Linked DNA regions of Homo sapiens: regions 1, 2, 4, 5, 6 and 7 are each linked to region 3. Evidence: promoter capture Hi-C in 16 types of primary human blood cells and fetal thymus (Javierre and others, 2016). All regions are on one chromosome and are shown on one strand. The core of a region is centred on a gene start or on the middle of the fragment in contact, and the rest is flanking DNA. Distances in the headings are between cores, read along the strand shown. Region 1 has its middle 55 kb from the start of TMEM263-DT. Region 2 has its middle 16 kb from the start of TMEM263-DT. Region 3 holds the start of POLR3B (RNA polymerase III subunit B). Region 4 has its middle 33 kb from the start of TMEM263-DT. Region 5 overlaps CRY1 (cryptochrome circadian regulator 1). Region 6 has its middle 8.6 kb from the start of CRY1. Region 7 holds the start of ABTB3 (ankyrin repeat and BTB domain containing 3).

Region 1 (2,700 bases), core at 42-2,541, 540 kb before region 3:
GAGGATCATCAAACCTAAAAGAAAAAAAACCTGCACTTGTTGCCAAGTCTTCCATCTTAGACATGAAACCTTGGGATGATGAGACAGATATGGCAAAATGAAAGGAGTGAGTCAGAAGCATTCAAGCAGATGGCTTAGTCTGGGGCTCATCTAAACTAGTTCCAGTGGGATACAGATTTAAGAAACTTCAAATACAGTGTGTGGTTGAAGATGATAAATTTGGAACAGATATGCTGGAGGAGCAGATCGCTGCTTTTCAGGATTATGTATAGCCCATGGATGTGGCTGCTTTCAACAAGATCTAAATTCCATTCTGGATCATTGCACTTAAATAAAAGCTTGAAAGATTAAAAAAAATGTAGAGTTAGACAAGCTGGAAATTTGATCTGGTTTTAGTCACTTATGCTGATTGGGTGACTTTGGGCAAATTCATCGAAGTCTCTGTAAAATGGGGATAATGCTAAAATCTACCTCATAAGGCCATGTGTTTAATAAGACGGCAGAGCAATTGAGTGTTTTAAAAACACCCTACCTATTTGTTTGTTGTTTTAATCACAATAGTATAGTCCAGGCTTGTCTAATTCTTGTTAATATGTGGTAACCAGTCATTTTGTAACCTATGTTTCTTAAGTGACACCAACTTTAAATGCAGACCTGATAACAGTTTTGGAACATTACACTCTAGATTTGTTCCCACCACCTGTGGGAGAACCCCTCCCCTCCATTTCTCTCCAATTCCTCTGATTCATGCTTTCCCTGAGACCTAGAGCCTTGCTTCTCAAGGTGTGGTCTGCAGACCAGTATCACTGCTTTCAGCTGTGATTGGTTAGAAATGCAGACTCTTGGCCGGGCGTGGTGGCTCACGCCTGTAATCCGAGCACTTTGGGAGCTTAAGGCAGGCAGATCACCTGAGGCTGGGGGTTTGAGACTAGCCTGACCAACATGGAGAAACCCCCATCTCTACTAAAAATATAAAATTAGCTGGACATGGTGGAACATGCCTGTAATCCCAGCTACTCCGGAAGACCGAGGCAGAAGAATCACTTGAACCTGGGAGGTGGAGGTTGCGGTGAGCCAAGATCACGCCATTGCACTCCAGCCTGGGCAACAAAGAGTGAAACTCCATCTCGGTAATAATAATAACAATAATAATAACAGATAGTATTTATTGATTGCTTACCATGTGCCTGGTGTTATGCTAAGCACTTAATATGCATTGTCTCATTTTGGGGGCACATTTCATCTTTATTTTAGCCATTCCAACAGGTACATAGTCAGAGCCATGTAGTTCTCAAACCTCTTTAGTGGATGCTGTTGGTTCAGTGGTCACTATTGGTTGTATATCCAAAATTTGTTTCTACAACTTTCTTTCCAGCAGAATCCTATTTTCTCACATCTCCACTCCTCACCATGGGCTTCAGGGAGAGCTGACCTGAGCCCTAGTTCCATGTAAAGGCTTTTATTAACTAAGGGTGATCCCATTTCCCTTGATAATTGGTTCAGGAATGGGCAGATGACCCAATTCTGTCCAAAGAGTCTTCAGGAGGTCTGTTGGGAAGGTTTCTTACTCTTAAGAGGGAGTTGCAGGGAAAGGCGATCTTCTTGGCTATTGTCATGTCTGGATGTTATGCTTGGAACTTCTGCCATTTGGCTATGGGTTTCGGGATGAAGCTCTCTCTGCAGTGATGGAGCAGAGCGATGCTTCCTTACCAGCGTGGAGCCGCTAGATCAACCCTCTGGGCTTCCAGATGTTGTGAGATTCGCTTCTTATATAAGCCAGACTGAGTGAGGTTTCTGCTCCTTGCTTTTTTTTTTTTTTTTTTCTGGAGACAGAGTCTCGCTCTGTCACCCAGGCTGGAGTGTAGTGGTGTGATCGCCGCTCACTGCAATCTCCACCTACCGGGTTCAAAGGGATTCTCCTGCCTCAGCCTCCTGAGTAGCTGGGACTACAGGTGCCCGCCACCACGCCTGGCTAATTTTTGCGTTTTTAGTAGAGACGGGGTTTCACCATGTTGGCCAGGATGGTCTCAATCTCCTGACCTCGTGATCCACCTGCCTCGGCCTCCCAAAGTGCTGGGATTACAGACATGAGCCACCGCACCTGGCCGCTTCTTGCTTTCTAACAGATATAATTTGGTTTAGAGTTGGTGCCCAGCAACCTCTGTGGGAAGTGCTGGTCCCCAGAAGATGCGGCTACATCCTCCTAGAGGCTTTCCTTATGGGGTTTTCATGAAGGAAAGCTTCTCTCCCCATTCGCCGAGGCCAATGGAATGGAAAAGGAAGGAAGGGATTCTCCTGGAGATGAAGACTGTCTCTTCTATTTGTTATTTGTGTGACCCTCGGCAAGCACTTTCCCTCCTTGAGACTTCGTTTTCTTATGTGCAGATGGCGGGGCCAAGGATCCCAACTTGCTTTCCAGGGTGTTGGTGAGATTCCAGTGAGACGCTGGAAGGGCAAGTTTTCATCACCAATCAAGGGCCTGCAGATCCAGGACTGACACTGCTCGTGGACATGCTTACCTCAGAAAGCTGGTCAGTGCCAGAGGTGGGGCTCGATCTAAGTCTCCTGACCCCCAGAGCAATGTTTTTTCTATCATAACCTGACTCAGCCTCTGCCCTAAGGGGTCATCTATTTTCTGCCTTTTTCTTTCTCAAATGCAAGGCATGAGCACGCCCTGAAACATAACTGTGTCAGGGTTTC
Region 2 (2,700 bases), core at 179-2,678, 580 kb before region 3:
TTACTGAGAGAATATAAAAATACTTCATGACAAAGCCTCTTCAGTATAATACTCCCAGTTATGAGACTTATGTCAATAGATATATTTTTTTAAAAAAATTTATCGGCCACCTTAGGACAAATCACTAAAAGACCACAAAAAGCATGGCAGCACAACAAAAGTCTCCAAATTTCTTAGCTTAAAAGGTTTTAATAATGATTGTTTTGTATAATTCATTGCAATTCATCTGTAACTAAAACCAAGATCACAGTAGCTCAATACATAGAGGTTAAAGGTAGATAAGTCAATTTTGTAACCTCGCCTCTGGCTTTTCATTTGTTGGCTTTTATATTACCTTAAAAATTTTAAGGGTTAGTGAATGCCTGTTCACATTCATTCCCATCTGGCCTAGAACATTTAAATTGGCTGTAAGTCTTTTGACTCTTAAGTCCCTTGACCATAGGGGTCCCACCAAGGGACAGGAAAAGCCAGGGCAGCCAGCCATGCCACCTCAGCAATTGTTGTGGGACAAAATAAAAGTTTGGTGGCCATTGATGTTGCCTCTGGAAAATCTTAGCTAGAAGAGGGAGAATGTAAACCAAAAATAAAATTCTAAGCCCCCTAACCATATGAACAGACCCCTCCTCTTGGCCAAGGCCATTCCAAAGTTAACCTGAAAAACTAGTTCAGGCCATGATGGGAAGTGGATGGCCAGACGTGCGTCACAGCTGACCAGCATTAACATCAACACAGAGACCTTAAGACTGACAGAACAGACTCTCTAAGTCTGATAAGAAACATTTACAGGCCAGTAGCAGTGGCTCATGCCTGTAATCCCAGCATTTTAGAAGGCCAAGGTAGGCGGATCATGAGATCAGGAGTTCGAGACCAGCCTGGCCAACATGGTGAAACTCCTCTCTACTAAAAATAGAAAAATCAGCAGGGCATGGTGGCAGGCACCTGTAGTCCTAGCTACTTAGGAGGCTGAGGCAGGAGAATCGCTTGAATCCAGAAGGTGGAGGTTGCAGTGAGCCCAGATCGTGCCACTGCACTCCAGCCTGGGTGACAGTGCGAGACTGTCTCAAAAAAAAAAAGAAAAGGAAAAAAAAGAAACATTTACAATCTATTCTCTCTGAAGCCTGCTACCTGGAAGCTTCATCTACATGATAAAACCTTAGTCTCCACAACCCTTATCATAATCCAGACATTCCTTTCTATTGATTGCAGGTCTTTAGATAATAATCAATTGCCAGTCAGAAAATCTTTGAATCTGCCTATGACCTGGAAGTCCTCTCACCCCCTAATCCCCCCACTTCTAGTTGTCCCACCTTTGCAGACGAACCAATGTACATCTTACATGTGTTGATTGACATCTTATCTCTCCCTGAAATGTATAAAACCAAGTTGTAGCTCAGCCACCTTGGGCACATGTTTTCAAGACCTCCTGAGGGCAGTATCATGGGCCATTGGTCACTCACATTCGGCTCAGAATAAATCTCTTAAAATATTTTACAGAGTATGACTCCTTTTGTTGACAGTAGTCCCAAAATATACCACTAGTCCCATTGCTGGTTGCTTCTGAGAAGGGCAGATTATAGGAGTGACAGAATTTGAACAAGAATGTATCTGTCCGTGCCTTTATGCTTATGAAAGATGTCACCTCCAACTCCCTTGGCTTAGTTGGTCTCTGGTGGGTTGTCTTAACCATGTCCCTTCTCCTCCTCTCAAGATTTATGAAAGCTTGAGTAGATGAAACCTGAGTTTCAATGTGACACGACTGGACAATATGGTGTGGTGACTCATAGTCCAGGTGCTATAGCTAAATAGATTTTAATGAGGACTCTGCTACTTTGATCAAGTACCTTAACTTGACTGGGCCTTTTTCCCCCCAAAAAATGTAGACTAATAGTCCCCATCTGCTAAAATTGTGTTTATTGAGTAACATAATGTATTATCCTGTTCATTCGCAGAGTGAGTACTCAATACATGGTAGCTGATAGCTGTTTGTATTGTGATAGACAATTGAAGGTATATCTGCCTTTAGGCTTTTTAGCCTGGAAATTGATTGGATTGGCTGGGGTTGTTAGAACCTCATGGAGGTGAAGGAACATGAAAGTCTTTGATCAAATTGTTGCTCCATGTAGCAGAATCTAAATTTTGCACACTATACCCAAATGTATAAAACATACAGCACTCTTTATTTTCTGTAACTTGTCTTGATGCTCCCATTCCTGCTGATGGCAGGGAAAAGTCGTAAATTTTCCAATTATTAAGCATAACTCAATAACCTTCCACTATAAGGAGTTGGATTTTTTTGTTTGTTTTTTGTTTTGAGACAGTCTCACTCTGTCACCCAGGCTGGAGTGCAGTGGTGTGATCTCGGCTCACTGCAACCTCCACCTCCTGGGCTCAAGTAATTCTTCTGCCTCAGCCCCCCAAGTAGCTTGGATTACAGGCACCCACCACCATGCCCAGTGAATTTTTGTGTTTTTAGTAGAGACAGGGTTTCACCATGTTGGCCAGGCTGGTCTCAAACTCCTGACCTCAGGCAATCTGCCCACCTCAGCCCCCCAAAGTGCTGGGATTACAGACGTGAGCAACCCCACCTGGCCAAAAGGAGTCTTTTTAGGGTCAACTTAGCCTCTTCATAAATATTCCCATTACTCATCAAACTTTCAGTGAATTCATTGACTTATTTAAGTCAATATGGACCCACAGATT
Region 3 (2,700 bases), core at 121-2,620:
TCAGCCTCCTGAGTTGCTGGGACAAGTGCACGCCACCACACCCAGCTAATTTTTGTATTATTTGTAGAAACAGGGTTTTGCCATGTCGCCCAAGCTGTTCTCAAACTCTTGAGCCCAAGTGATCCGCCCGCCTTGGCCTCCCAAACTACTGGTATTACAGGCCACCACGCCTAGCCAAGGAGGTTCTTATAATCCGATAGACTTACTGATCATGTCACTTTCCTGCTTAAACCCTTCAAAAGCTCTGCTCCAAGACAAAGTCCAAGCTCTGTCAGATGTTTATTGAAACTTTTCATAATCAAGACCCTTACTTAACCCTGTCTTTTATCTCTTCTCCTCTATTTTTCTTCACTCTAATACTACTGGATTTACTTTCCTTCCTCAAAAACATCCAATGGTCTTGCCGAGGAGGTTTCAAGTATCCTGTTCTCTTTCCCTGAAATCTCTCCTTTGCTATCTTCTCCGGCCACGTCTCCACTTCCCTATTCCACGTCAGTGTAGATTTTGAGGCTCAGAGAGATTACAAAATGTGCCTTATCAGATAACAAAATATGTCGACAGCCGCACTTCACTGGGCAGCTCGCTGTGGGGCAGCTGTCCTTAACTTCCGAGAAGCTGATGAAAGCTGTGGAGTCTCTCCCCCAGAAAACACACAGGCAAATTCTTTAGTAAATATTGAGGGCGTTTAAAATTCCCCTGCAACCCAAACTGGAACTTCAAGTTAAAAGGAAAGATGACTAGCTTGGAATTCAGACGATCTGGTTTTACCCCCACAGCCGGCTGTGGTGCCTCATGCAAATGGCCTGAGCTCCCTGGCCCCGTGTCCTCTGTAAGACTGCAAACATGCAATACGTCCCCCACAGTAAGTGCGAGGGTCAGTCCTCCCCACGCACACCTATGCTGGAAGAGCTCCAACCCTAGAGCCAGCAGCGGGGCTTCTCGGCCCCCGCAGCGGCTGACAGCTCCTCTGGGATCAGCCTTCACTCGCGCACGCGGAGGCCGGCTCTGGAAAAAAGACTCGCAAGCGCGACGCTCTGGGCATGCGCAGAAGCCCGGCGCATGCGCACAAACCGCCAGCCCGCCCCCTTGGCGGCCCGAGCACTCCGGGCAACGCCCCCTCAGGGCGCATCCTTGTCCCTGACGCTCCCTGCGTGCCTGGCACTGACCTCTACAGTCGGGATCGGCGCCGCCAGCTGCTCCGGAGTCAGGTTCCCAAACTCCTCCGCTAGCACGTCCATGCTGCTCACGAAGGAGGAAGAAACAGATAGAACCTCCGCGCCCGCCTTCCCTGCACCAAGCAAACTGCAAGACTCCCGGCGAACGGTGCGCGGAGGCCTAAACTGTCCCCGCCGTGCGTGTTAGCTAGAGACGCGGTAGAAAGGTTCCGCCCGCTCCCTGCCCGAATCTGCGGTGGAACCCGGATGTGGCCGAGGCCGAGTAAGGAAAGTACGCCCTCTGGTGTAGCTCGGAGGTCTGGCGCAGGGAATCCTAAGCCCCAGCTGTCAGGTTTCTTGCCAATTCTCTGGTAATTGAGACCAGCAAAACATAGTGGTTGTCATTTTAAAAGTAATCCGAAGAAAAGTGTAAACGCATAATTTACGCAACTTGAACCACTGAGGCAGAGAATTATTTAATGTAGTCCAAAATTCTATGCATTGTTTAGTATGGAAGAGCAGGAAACGTCCCAAATGCCTACCAATAGAAGATTGATTAAATAAATGATGGTACATGCGTGTAATGGAAGAGTGTTGAAAATTCTCAAAAGCACTAGATGGAAGATGTAGGAGTAAATACCCAGCGCATGGAGAAATTTAATATGAAAAGATGACATTTACGTTAGTAGGGGAAGGATGGCCTGTCCAGTAAATAATGTTTGAAGAGCTGATTACCCATTTGGGGAAAAAATACATGTAAGTGAATCTTTTGTGGATTAAATATTGAAATGTTAACAAAAACTTAGAAGAAAATGTAAGTGCAGATATTCATAACATTGAGATGTTGAAGACTTTCAAGACGGCAACAGTCAAATCATAAAGGATTTTATAATCTAAACACGATTTTATGATTCCACGGAAAATTTTTAATTTTCTGAACAGATTTTAAAAAATCACCAACAAATAGAATTAATAAAAAATAAATTGGCAGAAGACAAAGGGCTGGTCTCTCTAATTTAAAATGAGCTCATACAAATCAACAGAAAGAAAAATCCTATTAGAAAAAACAAGGCAAAATGCACCAATTAATTAATGGGTACGGAGTTTCGGTTTGGGAAGATGCAAAAGTTCTGTAAATGGAGAATGGTGATGGTTGCACAACAGTGTGAATGTATTTAATGCTGCTGACCTGTACATCATTTTAAAGGGTTAAAATGCTAAGTTTTATGTATATTTTACAACGATAAGAAAAGTTATGAAAATTTGTAAGTACATATATGCTTTCCAATTTCTCCCTCATAAAGGTAGAACCCTTGCACCAGGTTAATTATTCTTATTTACTAAAGAGCTACTTAAATTTCAGTACTTGTATTTTCTTTTTTTTTTTTTTTTTTTTTTTTTTTGAGACGGAGTCTCGCTCTGTCGCCCAGGTGGGACTGCGGACTGCAGTGGCGCAATCTCGGCTCACTGCAAGCTCCGCTTCCCGGGTTCACGCCATTCTCCTGCCTCAGCCTCCCGAGTAGCTGGGATTACAGGCGTGAGCCAC
Region 4 (2,700 bases), core at 106-2,605, 560 kb before region 3:
CTCCTTATAGAAGTATCCTGGCTAATATAAGACGGATTGATAAAATTAGAATATCACCATTCTGCAAACCATTAATGAAATGATAGGTGTACCAACCATGGATGATCGTCAGTGGCCACTAACATCACAGAAAAAGACAAGCAAGTATTATTAATAAATGCCTCCCGATGGAAGTACATACCTCTCCCTATGAAAGAGAATTTCAAACTGGTCTGATCAAACCTCCGGATCTTGTAAGACTACAGAGACAGAGAAACATGTTAAACAACAGCACAAGGAAGCAATCAACAAGTCCAAACTGTGGAAGTTCTATGGGGAAAATGACCCATTTAGCCAACAAATAAACTTCAAGGAAAACAAGGAAATGGAATGGGAATCTATAGATTAAAAGGGATTTCAAAAATTTCAAAACTTTTCTCCATTTACCTGTTTAACAAATCTGTACATCCTGCACATGTACTCTGGAACTTAGAAAAAAGAGAGATTTAAGCGTCAACCAAATGAATTTATGGACCCTGTTTGCATCCCATTTTGAACAAATCACTGTTAAAAAGAATTTTAAGACACTAAGGGAAATTTGAACACTCACTGGATATTTAATGATACTAAGGAATTATTATTTTTTTAGTGTGACAGTGATATTGTGGCTATGATTTAAAGAGTCCATATAATTTAGTACCTACTGTAATGTTGATGAATTAAATAATATTATATCTGGGATTTGCCTAAAAATAATCTATGGGTGGGGGAGAGAGAAAGTAGGGGCATAAATTATACAAGATTGGCTGTTAATTGATAATCATAAAGCTGCGTTTGGAAGCAACCCAAGTGTCCATCAATAGATGAATGGATAAAGAAGATATGGTACATATACACAATGGAGTACTATTCTGCCATAAAAAAAGAATGAGACCTTGTCATTTGCAACAACATGGGTGGAACTGGAGGTCGTTATGTTAAGTGAAATAAGCCAGGCACAGAAAGACAAACATTGCATGTTCTCACTTATTTGTGGGATGTAAAAATCAAACAATTGAACTCATGGACATAGAGAGTAGAAGGATGTTATCAGAGGGTGGGAAGGGCAGTGGGGGGCTGGAGTGAGGGAGGTGGGGTTGGTTAATGGGTACAGAGAGCAAATAGAATGAATAATACCTATTATTTGATAGCACAATGGGGAGACTATAGTCAATAATAATTGGACATTAAAAATAGCTAAAAGAGTGTAATTGGATTGTTTGTAACACAAAGGATAAATGCTGGAAGGGATGGATACCCCATTCTCCATGATGTGATTATTTCACATTGCATGCCTTTATCAAAACATCACATGTACCCTATAAATATATACACCACTATGTATCCACAAAAATTTAAAAATTTTAGCTGGTTGCGGTGACTCATGCCTGTAATCCTAGCACTTTGGGAGGCCAAGGCAGGTGGATCACTTGAGGTCAGGAGTTTGAGACCAGCCTGGCCAACATGGTGAAACCCTGTCTGTACTAAAAATACAAAGAAATTAGCCGGGTGTGGTGGCAGGTGCCTGTAATCCCAGCTATTCGGGAGGCTGAGGCAGGAGAATCGCTTGAAACCAGGAGGTGGAGGTTGCGCCACTGCCCTCCAGCCTGGGTGACAGAGCAAGACTCCATCTCAGAACAACAACAACAACAAAAAATTTAAAAAGCAAGAATGAAAAATAAAAGCTGAGTGATGTGTACATGGGGGAAGGGGGTGGAATTGGGAAAGAAAGCAAAGGAAAAGTATCAGCAAATCCAAGTTATTGATAAAAATGTTACTGAAACTAGTTTATTTAGGGATATGCTGAAAGTTTCGAGTTAATAGCATTATTTTAACTATTCTTGGGAAGACCGACTTTGTAGCCCACTATAGGATAGATTAAGTGAGGAGAAACTGGAAGAAGAGAGGCTGATTAGGCTATCATCAATTAGTTCGGACTGAGAACTTGTGGTGCAATTGCTGAGGGGCCTTTTTTGGTTGCTCAGAAATTGACACTGGGATCTCAGTTGAAACCTGTAGGAGCTAGTTCTCCCCCACAGGAGGCAAGCACCAACACCTGAGGCTAGACACCTAGATCCTCTACTGTTGAAGGTGAAGGTGCAGTGTTTGGGGTGAGAAGTTTTCCTCTCCCTTAGGCCAAGAGAGAGAAGGTCCCCAAAGAATCACTGGTAAGTATTGGAGTGCCCACAATACGAGAAGAATAACGTCTTACTCCCACTCTTTCATCTGCTTAGGCAAGGGCTAACTGATCTGTCTCTGTGCCTACCTGAGCACTGGAAAGAGAATGAAGAGGGCAGGCCTTTCCCTCCTTGAAGCAAAGAATTGCTTGGAAAGTTAGTTGTGAGGTGGGGGAAAGGGGTACCTGAACCATCCAAATCTTTCCAAGCATCACCTCCTCAGGGAAGCCTTGTGTTCCCCCTGTGCAAACTAACTTCCCTTCTTACCTGTTCTCCCGGAACTATTTTTCCTTTAGAACATTTATTTATCTCATCCAGGAGTGCCAAGGGACAGAATACAGTCATGGGTTCTTAGTTTTTGCTTCTGGTTGGGCCAGTAAAGCCCCTTCCTCTTGCCTCTTTTCTGCTTATCACTAGAGACAGAAACAAAAAACCATGGTTTCAGGCTGCTAAAAGCCTAAAGCAAAACAAAACAGAACAGCAACAACAACAAAATAAGGCAGGT
Region 5 (2,700 bases), core at 10-2,509, 630 kb before region 3:
AAAGCAGTTACATATTGAAATATGTTGTTTCTAATGACATTTCTGTGGTTTTTAACTTTTTAATGAATTTCACAGAGGACAATTGGTAATTTGTATATAAAGAACTTGGCAAGAGAATTTGCTTAATGTAAATATAAACAGTCACAATTAGTATAGACCCATCGATATATTTTTGATAATTTTTCATGTATGGTAAAGTTAAAATGACAAATTGATATTCTGATATAAAACTCAAAGTTTTGAAGTCAGTGGGAAAAAAGGAGGTTTTTAGACTTTCTTAAAAGACGTTAAAATTTTAGGACAGAATTTTCTTGATGTTGTTTGATCTAACTTTGCACTCTTTGATAATAATGTTTTAGATAATGTGCGTAATCCAAATTGGTATTGTAGCCTCTGTTAACACAGACAGTATATGTTTTAAACTTTGATGTAAACCTTTTTAGACCCAAACTTGTGGAAGTATCATGTGTTAAGTTCTCTGTCTCTGTTTCTTTGTTCATTTATTACTAAAATGAACTTGTTATTAAAGTATATGCAAATATGAAATCTTGTGTACGTGTTTTTTTTTCTTTTTTGGTAAGGGAGAGAGTATTGCTGTATGATATATGATTACAAATTACAAAGAGATTCTATAAACCACATCATCATTTTGAAGGAACAGCTACCATATGTTTAGTTAAACAGTGTTTTTCAAAATTATATGCAAGAAAGAGGTAAAACTAAAGGGACTTTTTTCAAGTAATGGCATTTGTAACCATAAATCAGGCAGTATGGGCTAGCAATCAATAGAGTGAGCTCTCGAGTCAAATGCCCATTTCTGCCATTCATTAGCTTTGAGGTCTTGAGCAAGTTTAACCTTCTATGTCTTCTTTCTTCTTATCTATAAAATAGGGATGAGGGTAGTATCTGCTTTATAGTTCAGTTCCATGTAAAATACTTATGAGCTGGCATGTGATAGGGTACTCAGTGTTAGCCACAGGGCTGCCATGCTGTGTCACCCCCTGTCGTGTACAGTGCACAGTCTGCATAGCTGTATGCCACAGCTCTGGTTAGCTGCCATTATTTTTATTAGTATTGTTATTATCCCTTTAGTGTTCTCTAGTAGGTTAGTTCTTGCCATTCTGAATTATAACCAGTGGCTTTTCATTTTCCCATCATTAATCATGATAGATATTTAGTATGATAATTTAAAGATAACTGAAGATAAAAGTTGAGTAAAAATACAGAAACGATAACATTTTAGATGATATGCATTTTTAAAAATATCCTGGATAGTGAATTAACAATGATCAATAAATTCCATTACTGAGGCTAGGTGTGGTGGCTCACGCCTATAATCCCAGCACTTTTGGAGGCTGAGGTGGGAGGATCACTGAAGCCCAGGAGGTCAAGGCTGCAGTGAGCTATGATTGTGCCACTGTACTCCAGCCTGGGTGGACAGATCAAGACCTCATCTGAGCTGGGTGTGGTGGCTCATTGCCTGTAATCCCAGCACTTTGTGGGGTTGAGGCGGGAGGATCACTTAAAGCCAGGAGTTTGAGACCAGCCCTGGAGACTTAGCAAGACCCCATCTCTATTTTTAAAAAATCAATATAAAAATAAAAAAAAAGTAAAGAAGACCAGGCAGGGTGGCTCATGCCTATAATTCTAGCACTTTGGGAAACTGAAGTGAAGCAGGAGAATCACTTGAGGCATGAACCCAGGAGGCGGAGTTTGCAGTGAGCCGAGATCACATCACTGCACTCCAGCCTGGGCGACAGAGTGAGACTCTGTCTCAAAAAAAAAAAAATGATTAGCCTGAACAACATCTTGGGACCCCATCTCTACAAAAGGAAACAACAAAAATATTAGCCAGGTGTGGTGGTGTGCACTATGGTCCCAGCTACTTGGGAGGCTGAGGTGGGAGGATGGCTTGATCTAGGGGATTTGAGGCTGCAGTGAGCTATGATTGCACCACTGCACTCCAACCTGGATGACAGGGTGAGACCTTGTCTCGGGGATGGGGCGGCAGGTGGGAAATCCATTACCGAGAAAAAGAATAAGAAAAAATCCTGTGCTTTATCGTTCTTTTTTCACCACTGTTAAAGTGAAGTAATATTTTAATTGTTTTTTATGGTAAGTGTACCTCACATCCTACTCTTTGGACCTGGTTGTACAGTGCAGAGTTGAGAAATTCATAGACCTGAGATTTACCATCACCGTACAAGAGGTCATAGATTTCAGTTTTCTTGTTGTTATTTTGAGACAGAGTCTCACTCTGTCGCCCAGGCTGGAGTGCAGTGGCACGATCTCGGCTCACTGCGGCATCTGCCTCCTGGGTTCAAGCGATTCTCCTGCCTCAGCCTCCCGAGTAGTTGGGACTACAGGCGCGTGCCATCACGCCCGGCTAATTTTTTGTATTTTTTAGTAGAGACAGGGTTTCACCGTTAGCCAGAATGGTCGCGATCTCCTGACCTCATGATCCGCTGGCCTCGGCCTCCCAAAGTGCTGGGATTACAGGCATGAGCCACCGCGCACGGCCAAAGATTCAGTTTTAATGTGAATAAATAAACAGTAAAAGAACACTATCTCAGCATAAGCACTGGTATGCTATTTATAAATGTAAGAGGATTTTTTTTTTATTAGGGAGTTTTTTGGAAAGCTTTTTCAGTTTGGTGTAAATAGTGGTCAAAATGAATCACTGAAAGGGAAAGAAAAGGC
Region 6 (2,700 bases), core at 194-2,693, 740 kb before region 3:
TAAAGAAAAATCAAGGGGATAAAGGGAATAGAGAAGGATGAGGGGTGTAGATGCAGTGGACAGGTAAGAAGACCACCCTAAGGAGGTGATACTGGGGCAGACACCTGAGGGCAATGAGGGAGGGAGGCATGAGAATGTCTTGGGAAAGAACATTCCAGGCAGAGGAAGTAGCAAGGCCAGAGGGAGCATTGCTGGCCTGCTTGAGGAAGAGCAAGGAGTGAGTAAGAAGAGAGTGGGAAGAGTAGAAGCCAGAGAGATGGATGGGCCGCGAAGAGGATGCAGAGGCAGGCCAGATCGCAGTGCCAGATAGCTTGTGCAGGTCTTTGGAGTTTCTACAACATTTGGCTGGATTTAGTAGCAACTACTATATTTTTCAGTCTGTAAATCAGATGCCTTCACTTTTTTTTTTTTTTTTAAGATGGAGTCTCATTCTGTCACCCAGGTTGGAGTGCAGTGGCATGATCTCAGCCACTGCAATCTCCACTTCCTGGATTCAAGCGATTCTCCTGCCTCAGCCTCCCGTGTAGTTGGGACCACCTGCACGCACCACCATACCTGGCTAATTTTTGTATTTTTAATAGAGATGGGGTTTTGCCATGTTGGCCAAGCTGGTCTCGATCTCCTGACCTCCGGTGATCTGCCTGCCTCGGCCTCCCAAAGTGCTGAGATTACAGGTATGAGCCACCGTGCCCAGCCTGCCTTCATTTTTCTAGAGCTAAACTAGAGTTAAACTATTTTAAAGTCTCAGTCTGCTCACTGGTTGAAAACTGGGCTAGTCAATTCTAGATCATTTCACGTTGAAATTCAATCAATTCTGAAAAACATCTAAGGAGATGTCTCCTGCTTCTCTTCAGGATAGCATCTCTGTCCCCAGATGCTTAAGGAACATTACATCCTTACAAAGGAAGGGTATTGATCTGGCTGACATTCCTTACCTGTCTACACTGTCATTTGCTGAATGTATGATCCTGTCTGGTCTTCAAATGTTATCTCTCCAGGCTGGCATGTGTTGAGATGCCCATGTCCCCATCTGGTCTTTGGCCACAACCTCTTGTGACACCTTGTACCATGCTGTCCCCTTGGCATAACCCCTTAGTTATCTGGTTTTGTCTTTCAGGTAATTTTTGTGGCCCTCTAAAGATGAGGAAAAGTCTAGAAAAGTCCACCTGTTCTCTTAGCCTGCAGGCTTCTGAGGCCCAGTGGCATCCCATACAGGCTTACTGTGCTGAGCCATAGCAAAGTGGCATGGAATTTCCATGAGACTCAGCCTCCAGATTTCAGATGGGAAGCTGGCACAAATCTCCTCTACCCTCAGATCACCCTAAACTTATCTAGACATCTGGAGCTAATCCTAGATAAAGGCAGATGAGATATTTTGTTCTTACTTTAGTTAAGATAGATAATTTTAATCTTATTTTCCTTGCCCTCATATTCCACCCCAGCCTGGAGGATTTTTATACAGTGTTATGAGAAGGAGTGGGAAGCAGCAAATCTTTTCTGATTTACATCCGGACCAAGGCTCTTGAATTTAGAACAAAAAAATGCTGGACTACCTTTGTCCTCTAGTTCTGCCCCTCTGAGGTGAAAAGACTCCCATCCAATGACCTGCATGGGGATGGTCACAGGACAGAAAAAGATCTGTGGGGAAAAAACATTGGCTAATATTTCACAATATCATATTGCCACATTTGTAACTATTTACACTTTCTAAAAGTACCTGGTCAAGAAAAAGGGTAAGAACAAGAGAACTGTTCACAAGTACATTCTGGTGGACTAGGTCAGTTCATGGACTATATCAATCAGTGTCCAATCAGACACAGAAACCACACAGTAAATCAAACAGGAAATATTTAATAAATAGAATGATCAATTATAACAGATGATTGATTTAAAAAGTGTAGGGGGAATTCTAAAGAATATTCAAAAGTACTGAGGGAGAATACCCAACAAAGGACAAACTTGGAAGTGGGAGTGCAGGGAATCCTCTCTAAGGGTGGGACTCGGATCTCATTGGAGAATGTATTGCTGTAGCCACTGGATAATGAAGAAGTTGGCTGCGTTTCCCTGAGCTCAGGTGGGGTCTACATTCACCAGGTAGAGGCCAGAGGGCAGAAAACATGGATGGGAGTGGCCATAGGAAACACCTTCCCAGAATGCAGGTGGACTGAGGCTGGGTAGCCAACTGTGGGGATGCCCGCAAGACTCACTGGATCCACCAGCAGAGATGCCAGTGAAACCTGACAGAAGTGAGTGCTACCGCATGTCCCTCTCCAAGGCATCTTTGTCAGTGGCAAAATAAGTACAAGAAAAAGAAAACAGAAAGACCGGAACTAGGAAGAGAAGCCCCTTCCTCCTGTAGTTTCCCTCCAATGCTCTCTACTGAGAATGTTTAGCATCGTGCCAGTGGCAAAGATGAAATCCTTACAGGGCCTGGTTCCATTAACAGAGAGGAAGTAATGAAAGATGAATTTGGAGCTGAGAGGCAATAAATTGATAACTAATATATGGATGAAATGCAGTGTTAAATGTGATCAATTGGGTGTTAGCAGGGCCTCTAGAAGAACAATGGATTAAGAGTTGAGCACAAGGCATTGTAGCAAGTAGTAATGATATAACAAATACTCTGCCCTCCTGGAGTTTGCATTTGGGGTTGGAGCAGGCATAGGTTGACTGAGAATAAATAAGTAAACAAACAAACAA
Region 7 (2,700 bases), core at 89-2,588, 960 kb before region 3:
GCCCGAGCTCGGGCCTGGGCCGGAGCCCGAGCCTGACCCAGGGCCACTGCAGCTCCGGGGCACCCCGGAGGCCACGACCCGCGAGTAGATGTCCCGGAAGAGGCTCTCCATGCAGGCTGTCAGGTAGATGGCGGCGTGCTCGTGGATGCGCAGCGCCACGCGGCTGTCCACCATCCAGCGATACACGCGGCCCACGGAGAAGGTGAGGCCGCAGCGGGCCGACTTGCCGCGGCCCAGGCGGTCGCCGCCGGCGCTGCTCATGTTGTAGAGGGACAGTGCGGCCAGCGCAGCCGCCGTACAGTGCGCGGCCAGGCCCCAGGACAGCACGATCTCCATGGCGCTCTGGATCTCGTACTTGGTGCACTTGGCGAAGCGCAGGCTCAGGCGCTGCGCCTCTTTGGCTATGCGCACCAGCGCCCGGCTCACCAGCGTCGACAGCTTGGCCAGCGCGTCCTTGGGCAGGCCGCCGGGGACCGCCGGGCCTGCCCGGGGATCCCGCGAACGCAGCAGCAGCGCCTCCAGCTCCTGGAGAGTCCAGGGGACCTCGTCTAGGTCCGGCAGCAGCCGCGAGCAGTGCTGGCCGGCGCAGTCCAGCCCCTCGGAGTCTTCCACCAGGGCAGTGTTGACAGTGTCAAAGCTGTTGTGCCGGCTGTGCATGGAGTCAGCTAGAGGCGGCCAGCAGCTCCCGCCATACGGGGACGCCGGGTGCGAGTCGGAACAGCACAAAGACAAGTTGGAGGAGCGCACCGAGTCCGCCGCGCCACCATAACCCGAGTCCAGCGTCAGATCCTCCAGCGTTCTCACCACGGGCTTCTTACCTCTCCTGGCCATCGCTGCGCCACTTCATGCTGCAGCCGCCTGGGAGCCAAAGGGAAGGAGCGGCGAGGAGCAGCGAGTGCCGCGGGGCGCGGGGAGAGCCGAGTCCGCGCCGCCTTGGCTCACTTTTCCACTAGCCGCTGCTACCAACTGTTAGTACTTTCGGCTGCCTCCCGGAACTGCCGCCGCTGGAATATACAGAGCAGACCCTGGAGTCATCTTCCAGAGTCCGGGCCGGAGCTGGGCGCAATGGGGAGCGAGCCAGGCCGGGAAGGAAGCTCCCGCCGGGGCTTGCCCCTTTCTTCCAAAATAAAAAGTGTCTAGACCGCTCTTCCCTGAGCCCCGCTGGGCGCAGTAGCCACCGGGCGCCGGCCACGGTGTTCGTGGGACTGAGACCACCCCAGATGCCGCCGCCGCCGCAGCTCCGCGGGCAGCTGGCTCCCGGCTCCCGGCTCCCAGTTCCCGGCCCTGGTTCGCTCGGCGCCAGCCTGCCCTGCACCGGAGCGCAGCAGCGGCCGTGGCGGCTGCAAACCTTGCCGAACCCCAGCAAACCCCGGGCAGCCAGTGGGACGGGCGTATGCAAAGCAGGGGCGGCGGAGAGCCAGTGGAATCGGAGAATGCTAATTACCTCGCTTTTTTTTTTTTTTTTTAAATCCCTCCTCCCCATGCGGCCCCGCCCCTCACACACGCCCCCGGCGGACACCGAGGCTGCAGGAAGTGGGGAGCAGTGGCCAGGGACTTGGGGAACCCTTGCAAGCGTAGAGACGTGGATGCTGCCCCCTGCTGCTGTCCCTGCCCGCATTCTCCCGGAGGGTGGTGGGTTGGGCCGGTGACCTCCCCACCTAGGTGTGCTCTCCACCGCGGTTCACAAGGTGTCTGCCTGACGGTCGCTCTCTCCCCTGCGGTTCGCATTTCACTTTTTTCCCCCCGTAACACCTGAAACATGGTTTTCCTCCCTCTCTATTCCCACTTCGGGTACGCAAACCAATTAGTGCGGCCCTCTTTCAGCCGGGGTTTGCTCCAGCATGGAGGGAAATAAGCCTGTCGAGCGGAGGCCCGTGGCGGTGGACACCACTGGGAGGCCGGATCTCCGGCCATTCGCCACCTGCCACTAGGGCGCGTTAACTCGATTCCTTTCAGTAGCCAGGAGGACCCTGTCCCTGCTTCAAAGTCCTGGGCGTGTGCTGCAGGGAGGGCTCAAGCACCACTTTGCCATCCTGGTGGGCATCTTTCCAAATAGCTCGGCCTTCTTAAAAGGAGTAAATTTGCTCAAAGGAGAATCTTCTTTCCTGACTAAAGAAAGATATAATATATATATGCATGGCTTAGCTGCATTCCTGTGTCAAATAGCATCGTGTCATCTACTTGTCTGTCCCCACCCACCCAGGCAGAAACCATATCTTACACACATGGGGATTCCTAGCTCCGCACACTGTGTCTCTCAGCTTAGAATCCCCTCCTATAGGAAGCTGGCCCAGATGTTTCAAGACTGGCTTCGGTGCTTCCACTGCCTCTATCCCCTTCTGTGGTTGCTGATTTCTGGGCCCTTGCAACACTAGGTTGCAAAAGCCTGGTTACTTGTCTGGATTCTACACTGGGCTAGGGGTTCCCATGCATAGTCCTGGCACAGTATAAGTGCTCAGTAAATATTTGTTGTAAATTGATGAAGGACGTAAGGATATGCTTTTAAATTGTTGCTTTGAATGTTCAACAATGGCCAACAGGTATATGCAAATATGCTCAACATCACTAATCATTCGGGAGATGCAAATCAAAACCACAATGAAATATCACTTCACACCTGTAAGGATGGCTATTATCAAAAAGTCAAAAGATAACAAGTGTTGGCAAGGATGTGGAAAAAAGAGAACCTTTGTACACTGA

What was found. The method cuts DNA at HindIII sites, captures the fragments that hold promoters and counts their contacts. A CHiCAGO score of 5 or more calls a contact.
Region 1: a fragment that was not itself captured here is called in contact with the fragment with the promoter of POLR3B in region 3 in 6 of 17 cell types (fetal thymus, endothelial precursors, megakaryocytes and 3 more); the score reaches 12.3 in fetal thymus.
Region 2: a fragment that was not itself captured here is called in contact with the fragment with the promoter of POLR3B in region 3 in 13 of 17 cell types (endothelial precursors, naive CD8 T cells, naive B cells and 10 more); the score reaches 10.1 in endothelial precursors.
Region 4: a contact is called between a fragment that was not itself captured here and the fragment with the promoter of POLR3B in region 3, in 16 of 17 cell types (endothelial precursors, fetal thymus, megakaryocytes and 13 more). The highest score is 25.4, in endothelial precursors.
Region 5: a fragment that was not itself captured here is called in contact with the fragment with the promoter of POLR3B in region 3 in 4 of 17 cell types (monocytes, naive CD8 T cells, fetal thymus and 1 more); the score reaches 5.6 in monocytes.
Region 6: a contact is called between a fragment that was not itself captured here and the fragment with the promoter of POLR3B in region 3, in 8 of 17 cell types (non-activated CD4 T cells, total B cells, naive CD8 T cells and 5 more). The highest score is 8.2, in non-activated CD4 T cells.
Region 7: the fragment with the promoter of ABTB3 here is called in contact with the fragment with the promoter of POLR3B in region 3 in 1 of 17 cell types (fetal thymus); the score reaches 5.3 in fetal thymus.

What each region holds. Positions count from the first base shown.
Region 1 is chr12:106,898,888-106,901,587 of GRCh38, reverse strand. It overlaps the pseudogene EEF1B2P4. Among named protein-coding and RNA genes, the nearest start is that of TMEM263-DT, 55 kb to the left of the region's middle. The HindIII fragment of the contact is 1,902 bases long and covers 341-2,242 here.
Region 2 is chr12:106,937,889-106,940,588 of GRCh38, reverse strand. No RefSeq gene overlaps it. Among named protein-coding and RNA genes, the nearest start is that of TMEM263-DT, 16 kb to the left of the region's middle. The HindIII fragment of the contact is 587 bases long and covers 1,135-1,721 here.
Region 3 is chr12:106,356,418-106,359,117 of GRCh38, reverse strand. It overlaps POLR3B (RNA polymerase III subunit B), which reads right to left and starts at 1,370. Exons shown (of 28, transcript NM_018082.6): 1 at 1,167-1,370. The coding sequence starts at 1,238. The HindIII fragment of the contact is 8,226 bases long and covers 1-2,700 here.
Region 4 is chr12:106,920,832-106,923,531 of GRCh38, reverse strand. No RefSeq gene overlaps it. Among named protein-coding and RNA genes, the nearest start is that of TMEM263-DT, 33 kb to the left of the region's middle. The HindIII fragment of the contact is 2,711 bases long and covers 1-2,700 here.
Region 5 is chr12:106,989,210-106,991,909 of GRCh38, reverse strand. CRY1 (cryptochrome circadian regulator 1) reads left to right here. Exons shown (of 13, transcript NM_004075.5): 13 at 1-546. Among named protein-coding and RNA genes, the nearest start is that of MTERF2, 3.4 kb to the right of the region's middle. The HindIII fragment of the contact is 2,768 bases long and covers 1-2,643 here.
Region 6 is chr12:107,100,828-107,103,527 of GRCh38, reverse strand. No RefSeq gene overlaps it. Among named protein-coding and RNA genes, the nearest start is that of CRY1, 8.6 kb to the right of the region's middle. The HindIII fragment of the contact is 6,074 bases long and covers 1-2,700 here.
Region 7 is chr12:107,317,072-107,319,771 of GRCh38, reverse strand. ABTB3 (ankyrin repeat and BTB domain containing 3) reads right to left here and starts at 1,338. Exons shown (of 17, transcript NM_001018072.2): 1 at 1-1,338. The coding sequence starts at 831. RefSeq lists an enhancer at 117-836. The HindIII fragment of the contact is 5,525 bases long and covers 1-2,700 here.